Linked DNA regions of Homo sapiens: regions 2, 3 and 4 are each linked to region 1. Evidence: promoter capture Hi-C in 16 types of primary human blood cells and fetal thymus (Javierre and others, 2016). All regions are on one chromosome and are shown on one strand. Each heading gives the region's core, a stretch centred on a gene start or on the middle of the fragment in contact. The rest is flanking DNA. Distances are from core to core; before and after follow the strand shown. Region 1 holds the start of ROR2 (receptor tyrosine kinase like orphan receptor 2). Region 2 has its middle 86 kb from the start of LINC02957. Region 3 overlaps LOC105379829 (a long non-coding RNA gene). Region 4 holds the start of LOC105376143 (a long non-coding RNA gene).

Region 1 (2,700 bases), core at 56-2,555:
AGCTAACGCCGCCTCCTCCAGGCAACCTAGGCAGGTCCCAAGCTGCACTTCCGAACCTCCCCGCCGTTCCTCTGCGCCCCGGATCCAAGCAGCCGAAACCGCGCAGGGACTCGGGGGAAGTGGGGCCCCGGGAGGAAACCCACCTAGGAGCCGGGCCCCGCCCCTCCCGCCGCCAGCCTCCTACAGGTCCCGGGGGTCCCCCCGGCGCGGCCAGAAGGCGGCCGCGCCCCAGCCGCTCAGGGACCCGCGATCCCAGTCACAAACCATTTCAATCCAGATCACACACCACTTCGGCCACCCCAGAGCGGTGGGGGAGAGGAGGTTTCAGGGACCAACAAAAGGGATGCCAAAGAGCCCGTTTCCATCAAGCGGCCCGCGGGCTGGGAAAGTCAGGACCCGGGAGCCGCCGGCGCCCCCACCCCCGCCGCAAGAGCCGCTTCTCCGGGGCCACGTCCACCCCAGGATTCTGCCAGGCATCAGGCCGCCCTGGGGGTGGGGGGACGCTCCGAGACAGACGGGGGACACTCGGGGCCGTGTGCCCTTGAAGGAGGAAGACCTCGGGGAGGAAGCCCGGGTCCTGGGACCCTCGGGGCACATCTGCGGACTCGGGTCCCGGGCCCAGGGCGGGTACTCACATTCACACTCGCACTCCCACTCGCGACCCTCGGGAAGCGCCACCGAGAGGCTCCCAGCCGCCGCCGCCCGCCCCCAGACTCTGGAAACACTTAGGCGTCCCCAGAGCGCGGCTTATTGTAACCAGCCCGAGGGGGTCCGGGGTGCGGGCCGGGAGCGGCGTCGGGCGAGATGCGAATGGCCCTGCCTGGCGCCCCTCGTTCAGGAGCATGGGCGCCGGCGCAGCGGCCGGGAGCATAGTGGCGGCGGAAGGGCTGGCCAAGCGAGCCGTGAGCTACCGTCTGCGCACAAGCCGGAACGCCAGATCCTACCTGAAGTCCGGGACACTGAGAGCAGAAGCGCGGCGGCCGCCCAGACGGCCGGGATGCACAGCAGCGGCCGCCGCGGGAGCGCCGAGCCCCGGGCCATGCCGCAGGCAGTGGGGGCCGGGAAGCCCTCAGAGCTTCGGGCCGGGGCGCGGGGTCGGGCGCCACCACCCCTTTCTACGATGCGTCCGCTCCTCCTTCTCCCTGGCGCTTCGCAAACGGGTCCACTTCGAGGACCTCGTCGTCGTCCTCTTCTCCGGCCCGGATGCGCCGCTCGGCTCCGGCCACGGCAAGGGCTGGCTGGGGAGGTTCCTTGGCGCGGGCTGGGGCGTCCCGCCGGCCGCCAGGACGAGCGCGGGGGGCGGACCGCGGGCGAGCGCGCAGGAGGCAGGGTCCCCGCTCGCCCGCCCCGATGGGCAGAGCGAGGCTTGCGCCGGCGCCCCCTGCCGGGGGAACGCGCGGGCGGCGGGCGGGACCCAAGGAGCTGGGGCTGCAGCTGGGGCCCCGGACCTGCCTCCTGCGCCCGCCCTCGGGCCTGCGCCTCGGAACGCTTGAACACAAAGGTGGCGCCTTGGGGGCGTCAGCCGGAGTTCGGCGGGTCTGCCCACGCAGGAGAGGCGCCCAGAGCGGGTGCCCCCGACTTTCGGGGGCGACACACCCGGGGATCTAGGTCACAAATCAGTAACTCCAGGCTGCACTGCGCACCGGGACAAATCTGAGAGCCACCCAGCCCCAGACACCAGCGGTGAGGCAGGAAGAGGAGAAGCGAAAGTTGCAAAAGGAAATGTTCAGGAAAACAAACAGGCCGCCTTGGCACCGGCGCCCTCCCAGGTCGGTGGGGACAAGCGCGTCCCCCGAAATGCTCAAAACTGCCAGGGGTCGAGCTGCGTGGAGGGAGCCCTCGGGAGCGCGATGCTATCCGAAGCCACCGCGGCTTTTGGTTTACTGTTAAAAGCAAATTGTATAATTTTACCCATTAAAGGCAGAACACTATTTGTTCTCTGCAGAGGCCCAGAATGTGCAGAATTTGCTTCACTTATTAGAGACATTTTGAACGGAATTCAAATAGCATGTTTTCTTGCTTATTCTTGGTTTTGCTCAGCACATGCAAATGTCTTTGTTTTTCCTCTTAGAGGAAGGAATTGGATTCTCCAGCATCTCAGTTGCTTGTTCCATGAGATTGATCTTTTAACTGATTATCCAGCAGTTTGTTTGGTGTTTTTGCTGGAGTACCAAGCTCTGTTAATTGGAGGGCATTAGGGAGAGCCCTGGCCTTGGGTGCCAGACGTGAGGCCTCAGACGTGGCCAGAAATAAAAACTCTCTTGCTATGGTCTGCGGACAAAATGACTAAGCCAGCTCTAGCTTGTTACCTCTGTTAAAAGTATTTAGGCGTCCGGCTATCTCTACCCAATTTGTGTAGGGAAATATCTCACGCAGTTCTCATTCCCAGGAGCTGCTGTAAATCCAGTAGGAGAATGGGAGAAGATCCTAGCCCCTCCTCAACTGGATGGCAAAATTATTACCAAACTTCTTAGACGGGCTCAGGCTGTTCCTCTGCCCAGGCTGGTGCGGGTCTGAACGGGGGGGCTGCTCTCCCCAGTGGTTAGAGGACTGCCAGGGGTTTATCTTTGGGGTTTTCCTCCCTTTAGCTTCCCTTAGAATCCTTAAGGATGCTTTTAGAGTAATGTTTTAAGAGTAGGTGCTGAAGCACTTAGTTCCACACCCCTCTCTTCTGGATCTAGGGAAAACCCAACAGGGGCT
Region 2 (2,700 bases), core at 159-2,658, 1.0 Mb before region 1:
TTAAAAGTGTACTGGGGGCTGGGTGCAGTGGCTCATGCCTGTAATCCCAGCACTTTGGGAGTCCCAGCACTTTGGGACTTCAGTCCCAGTTCTTCAGATTGTGTCTGCTGTACCTCCATAGAGCTGGGTGTGGTGATCAGGCCAAGCTTCAAGGTCTTGTTTTGCATGCCGGTCCCATGTCTCCAGCATCCCCTGAATCCAGTGACACCTAGTCCTCCCTGTCAGCTTCTCCGCCAGTAGTAGTCTGATAGGGCTGCCAAGACAAAGCAGTGCAAACAGCAGACATTCATGGTCTCAGCTCTGGAGGCTGGAAGTCTGAGATCAAAGTGTTGGCAGGATTGATTCCTTCCGAGGCCTCTCTTCTTGACTTGCAAAGGCCTTTCTCCTGTGTCCTCCTGCAGTCCTACTCCTGTATGACCTTATCTTAGCAAATTACATCAGCAAAGTTCACATTCTGAGGTTCTGGGAGTTGGGACTGTAACATATGTTTTTGGCAGGGAGTTGGGGGCAGACATAATTCATCTCATATCACTGTGCGGATGGACCCTGTCCTTCTGTGCACTGCTTCATCTCAAGTGCCTGTGAATGGCATACCCCCAGTGGACCCAGATTAAGGCCTCACTCCTAGCTCAGAGAGGATTCTAGGTGACTGAGTGTGGTTGGTTCCCTCAGAGCTGGACCCTGGGGCTGTGCAGCAAGTTGGTGAAGATGCCTTCTGAAGACCTAGGGGGAGCAGGAATGAGGCTGGGGCCTTCCAGGGGACTGGCTTCATTGGTCTTGGCCTTGGGTGGCCCCTGCACATCAGGAGGAGGGGATGCACAGGCCCGCCCACCCTGAGTCATTCTGGGTAAAGTGGTGTTGAATCGTGTGCCCTGGAAAGATGTTGAAGTCCTAACCCCAGTATCTGTGGATGTGGCCTTATTTGGAAATAGGGTCTTTGCAGACCTATAACTTATCTTAGATCAAGTTAAAACAAGGCCATAAGGTGGTCTCTAATTTAGTAGGACTCTGTGTCCTTAGAAGATGGGGAAACCTGCATAGGCATACACACTGGGAGACATGAAGACACGATCTGCAGGCCAAGAAGAGAGGCCTCAGAAGAAACTCCCAACTTCCAAACTGTGAGACAATCAACTTCTGTAGCTTAAGCCGCCCAGTCCCCACCACCAGAAAGTGAATCCAGGTATTGACAGGAAGCCCCAGGTCGGCTGCCCCACCATGCTAGCCATGCCCCCACCTCCCCGGGCCCCTGAGGTAAGTGCACAGGGAGACTCCGGAAAGGGGGCGAAGGACTCCAGGGCTCACAGTTCACACCTCCCTGTACCTGACAATTATTGGAATCTTATTGAAAAGCAGATTCTGCCTCAGTGGGTCATAATGAGTCAGCCAGGTTGGAGGGGGTCCCTCGAGAAACTCCTACCAGCCTGTCCACTGAGGTGGAGCCTCAGGAAGTTCATGATGTTTGCAGCTGGGAGGAGCCTGGCCCTTCCTCTTCGTGTGCAGAACCTGAGATTTGAATGGCAGCAGGAAGCCCTCTAGCAGGGACTCTGGCCTCGCAAGAGTCCTCATTTCCCCCTTTTCTTCTTTTTTATCCAGTAAAACCCTGCTTTACTCACCCTCTCCAACTGCCTGCAAGCCTAAATTTTCATGGCCGTGGGACAGACAAGGACCCAGTCTTTAGCTGAACTAAGGAAAGGTCCTGCAACAGTGGAGGCTGGGGGGCTGCATTTCTCTCAGCTCTTGGGTGATGTAGATGGGGCCCTACCTGACTACAGGCACTGGGCACTCACCTGTGAAAGTCCATGAGGCTGGCTCCTGGTTCTGGGCTGTGGCCTGGCAGCTGTCTAAAGCCCCTGGGCAAGTCAAATGAGCAGCTGGTTTGAGACCCAGGGCCTTCAGGAGGGAGACACTTCCAGGGGTTCAGGTGGTAAGCACTCCAGTTCTGTGGGGCCTGCACCTCCTCCAGTCTGGGGCCATTTGTAAGAATAGACAAATGTGAATATACCACCACTCAGGAAGCTGCAGGAGAGAGGTTGCGGCTCAACGGCCTGTGGCCAAAATGCCTCACTTATTCTCAAATATATAGAGCCCCACCTCCAGCAGAAGCACCCCTGTCAACCCTGGCCTCTGGCAGGAGGTCCAGCCTATGACGTGATGCTGCAAGTTGGTTTAACATCTCACCAGAAGAAGTCTGACCAGAGCCTGAAGCTGAGGGGAGCCCAGCGTGGCACCACGTCTCCCGCTCCAGCGCCGTCCCTCTGGCCACCAGCCCAGGTCACAAGCACCAAATATATATTCATGTGATCATACATCCTAGGAAGAGGCAGAAGAGGGCCCCCAGCCTGAGTGCTTTTAGCTGTACAATAACCCTCCCATAGCCATGAGGCAGGGCCACTGGGAGGAGCACTCAGGACTGAGCCGAAAACGTTCCTGGGTTCTCCCAGAGCCTGAGGGGGGGTCTGCTCATTAGGGCCCTGAATTCTTCTGGTGAGATGTTAAACCACCTTGTAGCATTACGTCATAGGCTGGACCTCCTGCCAGAGGCCGGGGTTGATGGGGGTGCTTCTGCTGGAGATGGGGCTGTGCAGGTGTGTACAGCTGTGCACATCTTGGGCCACCTGGGGCAACTCTGCTGGATCACATTAGCTCCAGAGCCCCTGTGAGGGTATCCAAAGCTTCTGTTCACTTCTGCTGTGGCAG
Region 3 (2,700 bases), core at 17-2,516, 1.0 Mb before region 1:
ATAAGTGGTAGTGGCTTTGCTTCAGATCCATATGGAAATAAGAGAAAATTGCTACCTTATACCACACACACACATTTGCAGGTCTAAATATGAAAGTCAGAACACATCTTTTGAATAAAAATGTAAAAGAATATCTTCTTGAACATTGGCTAGAGAAAGACTAATTAAACAAGCAGTAAAATGCATGACCCATACAAGGAAAAACTTGATAAATTATTCTACAATAATTCTAAGACCCCCTAGTCATTGAAGACACCAGGAAGAAAGAAAAACGTAAGCAGCAAAGTGGGAGGAGATATTTGTAGTGTGTTTAACTTGAAGAAGATTTCTGCAAATTATTAAGATAATGACAACCATGTAGAAAATGAAACAAGAGACTTCAAATGACCAATAAAGATATGAATAGGTAATCAAGGAAAATTAAATGAAAATCACCATGCCCCATGCATCAGAATGGCCAACACAAAAAAGCCTGGCAGCACCAAGGCTTTGGTTGAGGTGTAAAGTTATAGAGCCCTACCACCCTGGAAAGGGTTTAAGTCAGTACAACCACTTGGAAAGACTGCTTGGTGTAAATTATTAAAACCAAGGTCATGAAGAATGGAGGACCCAGCACATTTACCTCTGGGTATGTCGGTTCCGAACAGCATTGCATGGACAAGTACACCAAGAGGTAAATACAATTCTTGTGGCAGCAGTGCTTTCTACAGCCCCTAATTGAAAATGATCCAAATGCAAATCAATAATAAAGATGTATTCCTAGGTATGGAACTACACAAGAATGATCTACAGCTAAACATCATAGCAAGCCAGATACACCAGAACGCTTGCTGCACAATTTCATTAAGATAAAGATCAAAACCCAGCAAAACTAAGTCAACTATTCAGTTGCTAAGGGACAGCAAGGAAATGATTTCTATAAAAGTTGGGATAATTGTTACCTTTCGGGGCAGGTCCTCTGGGAGTGGCAAAGTTATCCTTTCGACCTGAGTACTGGTTATGCAGGTTTACTTTGTGGATAAATTATCTTGGTCCTGTGTACTTTTCTGGTTGTATTTTATATTTCACCATAAAGAGAAGATAAAAGGAAAATTGACACTCAACCCTCATTCAGTGAAGCCTTTGGGAATAGGCTCTGCCTGGTTTTTTACACTCCATGCCAACATCGACACGAGTGTCTACATATAGACGCTGCTGCATTTCCTTCTAGGTGCTGGATCTCATGGCTGATCATGTCTCTGGGTTTGATTTCGGCACACAAAGCTAAGCACTACCTGGATGCAACTGCAACCATTCAGGATGCAACTGCAAGCCCTTCTGTGAGACAAACTTACTTTGGGCTTTATTATTTCTTCTACTCCTCATTTTTCTATAAAACTTCCTCAGTGATTCATTTGATTCTTTCTTGTTATATATACGTATATTGTGATAAGTAATGTTGCTTCAGTTTGTGTAAGTAGCACTGTCTTTGCTATCTATTGTTATTGCAAACAACAGCCCTACAATTTACTGAATTGAAACAATGACAACTGATTATTCCCCATGACTTGGCAATCTGGGCTGAGCTCAGCTGGGCTGGGTAATAGTGTCTGATGTGGTTGGAACATCCAGGATGGCTTCTTCACTTGGCTGGGAGCTGCCTGGACATCCTTTCTCTCCATGTGGCCATTTTCCCAGATGGGTAACTGAATTTCCTTACCTGAGGCTCAGCACTGTAAGAGAGGGTGTCCCAGGAATATAAGCCCAACCTGCATGCTCTTATCAAGCCTGGGCCATGCTTTCTGACATCCACTGGCCAAATCAAGTCAAAAGCCAAGGTCACTGGGAAGGACAGCACAAGGCGGTGAATATCAGGGATCATCAGGGCCACGAAAATAAGCCCATCACGGATACATGGGAATAATCAAATGCATATATTCAGAAATGCATAGAGCAATAAAATAACTTGGAAAATATTTCTGTATCTCTGTAAAAGTTTTCCCTTGTTTGTCAATTTGACCAACAGCTTACTAGTGATCAAATCTCTACCAGTTTTAGCACATGTTCTCCATTTGCAGCATGACTGCTTAGAAAGTTTTCCCTAAGATTAGGCATTTTTATGAACACTGTGATGCTCATAAACCTCAGAGGTGGGAGATCCAAAATAAGTCTCAGGTCCCAGGGACCTAACATTAAAGGACACAGCTCCTCCAAAAAATGTGCAATGGGAGGAGAATTGAGGTGCCATGGGCTTGCCCAGGGCCTGGGCACTCCAGTTACCTTCCTGGAAGGCTGGCTCTGACCTCAACACCTTTCCTGAACTTCTCAGAGCAATCTCCTTGCTGCATTGTCCCCTCAGCCTGCCCCACTACTAGAAATCCCTGTCTTGGTATTTTGGTATTTTGAGATGAAAACCACAGAAGACAGTAGGAACTGCTGGGAAATTCACCTGAACAAACAGGACGTGAGAAAGCCCAGAAATAAGGCATCATCCTTAGACGAGGGGGCCATGCAGTCTGGGGAGGAAAGTGTCTGGACCATTCAAAATCTGGATTGCAAATCTTCCATCACCCCGCAGCTACTTCCTTTGTAACCCTCTGGAGCACGCTTCCTTCTCCACTTTCCCTCATAAGCATTTCTACATTCAGTGCCTGTAGATGGGGTGGCTGGCCAGGGTTCCAGACTGTTTGCTACTGCTGCTTCCAAACAGCTACAAGCTGC
Region 4 (2,700 bases), core at 92-2,591, 1.0 Mb before region 1:
CCTAGTGGACATGCCGGATGACTCCACCCATGGTGCTTCCAGCAAGAAGTTAGACAATGGAGTGGGGAGAAAGGATGCTGGGCTTCCTCTGGCTCTCAGATCACCCACCTTTATTATGATTAGGAAATTGGAAAACCAGCCACAACCAAATGCTTCAGGAATACCTCGCCTTAGGAGCTAGGGACCAAAAAGAGGCCCAGAACTATGAGTGTCTGCTACTTGCTCATGAGCAAAATGGCTGCTCCAAGCCCTGCTCTTGACACTCACAGAGCCACTGCCCAGAAATCAGGACCTCTTGCTAAAACTGCTGCAGAAAACCAGGACCTCTCCACTGTGCTTCACAATGGAAATGGCAGACACGGCAAAGCGCAGCCCCCACTCCCTTCTGTCCTGTAAATGGCAAGTAAGTGCACCTAGTCAAAATGAAATAAAATCAGGCCCAGAATCTAGCTGCAAGGGAGTTTGGAGAATGTCATTTTTAGTATTACAACTTCTGCACACAGGCTGGAGAGTAGAAAGCGTGCAGAGCTCTGGTCCGCCAGGATCCAGTGCAACTCAGAGTGCAGATGCATTGATTTCCAAACAAGAATTGCTGTCAATTGACTGCAGGGTAGACCATAAGCATTCCGGGTCTCATGGGACCGCACTTGTCTCTCTTCTTTGCCTGCGAGATCTCCCCCAGCTCCTGTACTCAGCAGTAGTCACCCCTGCAGTAGGTACTGTGAAGGAGGATGCTGAGGTCAAGGAAGAATCTTCAGCCTCAGAAATGTCTTTGATTGTGAAGTCACAGAAGCTGCCTGGGTGGCAGACTGCTTGTGCACTCCTGTGCAGATCAGGGGCTGCAACCCAATTCTTGCCCCACAGCAGGTCAGTGAGAAGGCAGACCTACAAATCAGCATGTGCTTGCTTCATATGATTTGTCTCATTTAACTGGCCAGACAGCTGAGGCTTAAGTGGTGTTATCAAAATACCAAGGCTGAAATAAATCAACATAACAGAGTTTTAGAACAAATAATCAATATAAAGATAATTAAAAGTAAATACATAATCTGAAATAATTTGGGGGAAATAATTCAGGAACAGAATGAAGAGGGAAACCCTCAGGTTCTCCTCGAAATATTGTAAGTGAGTCAGAAAACAGGACCAGTAATGGCAGAGGCAGAAGAGCGGCAGGAGACGGCGGTTACCCCACAGCAGAACGCTGCTCTGTGAGAATCCCCCAGCAGGTACCCCATTCCAGCTGTGGTTCGCCTACAGGCAGTCAGCCTCCCTGAACCTCTGCAGAGGGCAGGGATAGTAGATCTGCCCTTTAAGACCCATGCAGAGGTGCTGAAATGACAGTATTGGTACTCTGGATACAATGGAAAGTTCATTAGGGCTGATATTAATGGTAGTCACTGTCATATTTTCAGTTGCTTTCAGCAGTATTTGGGCCCCAGGATACTGATGTTTGCTCAATACATGAGCCTGCAGAAGTAACTGGGAGCAAACACCTGATATCAGTATTAAGCATGTGGTGCCGAGAACAATATGTTACAGAATACTGCAGACCCACTTAAATCATTCTTTTGTCTAAGAATGTGGGGTGTTCAGTGGATAAGTGAGAGTCCATGGATTTTGCTCTATGGCTGATGAAAGGAACGTGATGTGTGACATTTAGCACCGGTGTCAGGAATGGCTCTCCTGTTGGCAAACTTATTTCGCACGTGCCTATTCATCATCTATCCTGGGCACCTCACTCAGGTCCTCATGAGTCCCCTGTCTTCTCAGCAAGCATTACCTCTCTACTCAGACCAAGGCCTTGTGAGGGATGGAGGGTCACTAAGATGCACTTCCTGTCCTGAAGACATTGTCAGTCTCCTGGGGAAGACGGACTTCAAGAGAACAAAGACGAACACTGGATCCCTACTGGATTTGGAGGTCTACAGAGAGGGCTGCATTTTGTCCAGAATTTGGAAGGTAAAAATGGCCAGAAAAATGCAGAGAGGGAGGTTCTAACCCAAAGGAGCTTTATCAGTCAGATGTTCAGTATGGTGCTGCTGTAACCAACAGTTCCCTTGGAACTGACACGTGTCATATGTTTCCCCAGCTTATCAGACACAGGGGCCAGGAACAGAAGCCTCCCACAAGCCCAGAAGGACATACTTAATGCACAGCACTGATTGCTACAGGGACCAAGATGGGGACTTACAGGTGCATTTGGGGAAGAGGGCACTGGCCAGAAGGCCAAATCCACGCAAGGTGTGGGTTTGGGGAGGAGGGATGTGTCATAACAGAGTTCCCAGGAACAGCCTCTGACTTGTGCATAGGCAGTAGACTGGGGGTGCCCCGAGGGTCAATGCCCATAGGGAGTAAGGAGACAGGACTGGGTAGCAGGAGAATTTGAGCTGTGGAGGCCCAAGGAAAGGCTCAGCTGGGGGCACTTCAGGCTTGTCCTAATGCACCAGGCTAGACCTTCGTGCACCTCCTAAACCAGCCATTGGATGGGGGCAGCTCAAGGATGGGGTAGAACCTGGCTGAGGGCAGGCCCTGGGGAGGGCTCAGCTAGAGACTTCAGTAGCATTGCTCCAGCAGGAGGCGGATGTGGGTGCCAGCCACAAAGGAGTGTCCTATGGAGCACTATTGTCTCCAGCACAGAAGAAAGCCAGGGGCCTGGAGATGCCAGGCTAGAGATTCTCAAGCAGTCATTCTTGTATTGCT

Evidence for each region. The method cuts DNA at HindIII sites, captures the fragments that hold promoters and counts their contacts. A CHiCAGO score of 5 or more calls a contact.
Region 2: a contact is called between a fragment that was not itself captured here and the fragment with the promoter of ROR2 in region 1, in 3 of 17 cell types (M0 macrophages, monocytes and M1 macrophages). The highest score is 11.2, in M0 macrophages.
Region 3: a contact is called between a fragment that was not itself captured here and the fragment with the promoter of ROR2 in region 1, in 2 of 17 cell types (M2 macrophages and M0 macrophages). The highest score is 5.7, in M2 macrophages.
Region 4: a contact is called between a fragment that was not itself captured here and the fragment with the promoter of ROR2 in region 1, in 6 of 17 cell types (M1 macrophages, M0 macrophages, monocytes and 3 more). The highest score is 11.9, in M1 macrophages.

What each region holds. Positions count from the first base shown.
Region 1 is chr9:91,948,923-91,951,622 of GRCh38, forward strand. ROR2 (receptor tyrosine kinase like orphan receptor 2) reads right to left here and starts at 1,306. Exons shown (of 9, transcript NM_004560.4): 1 at 945-1,306. The coding sequence starts at 1,041. RefSeq lists enhancers at 97-598, 599-1,098 and silencers at 1,292-1,471, 1,585-1,879. The HindIII fragment of the contact is 6,243 bases long and covers 1-2,700 here.
Region 2 is chr9:90,909,835-90,912,534 of GRCh38, forward strand. No RefSeq gene overlaps it. Among named protein-coding and RNA genes, the nearest start is that of LINC02957, 86 kb to the right of the region's middle. The HindIII fragment of the contact is 2,529 bases long and covers 145-2,673 here.
Region 3 is chr9:90,947,343-90,950,042 of GRCh38, forward strand. All of the region lies in intron 1 of LOC105379829 (a long non-coding RNA gene), which reads right to left. Among named protein-coding and RNA genes, the nearest start is that of LINC02957, 48 kb to the right of the region's middle. The HindIII fragment of the contact is 4,284 bases long and covers 1-2,700 here.
Region 4 is chr9:90,931,081-90,933,780 of GRCh38, forward strand. LOC105379829 (a long non-coding RNA gene) reads right to left here. Exons shown (of 4, transcript XR_001746828.2): 3 at 1-976. It overlaps LOC105376143 (a long non-coding RNA gene), which reads left to right and starts at 1,871. Exons shown (of 3, transcript XR_001746829.2): 1 at 1,871-1,959; 2 at 2,090-2,193. The HindIII fragment of the contact is 3,910 bases long and covers 1-2,700 here.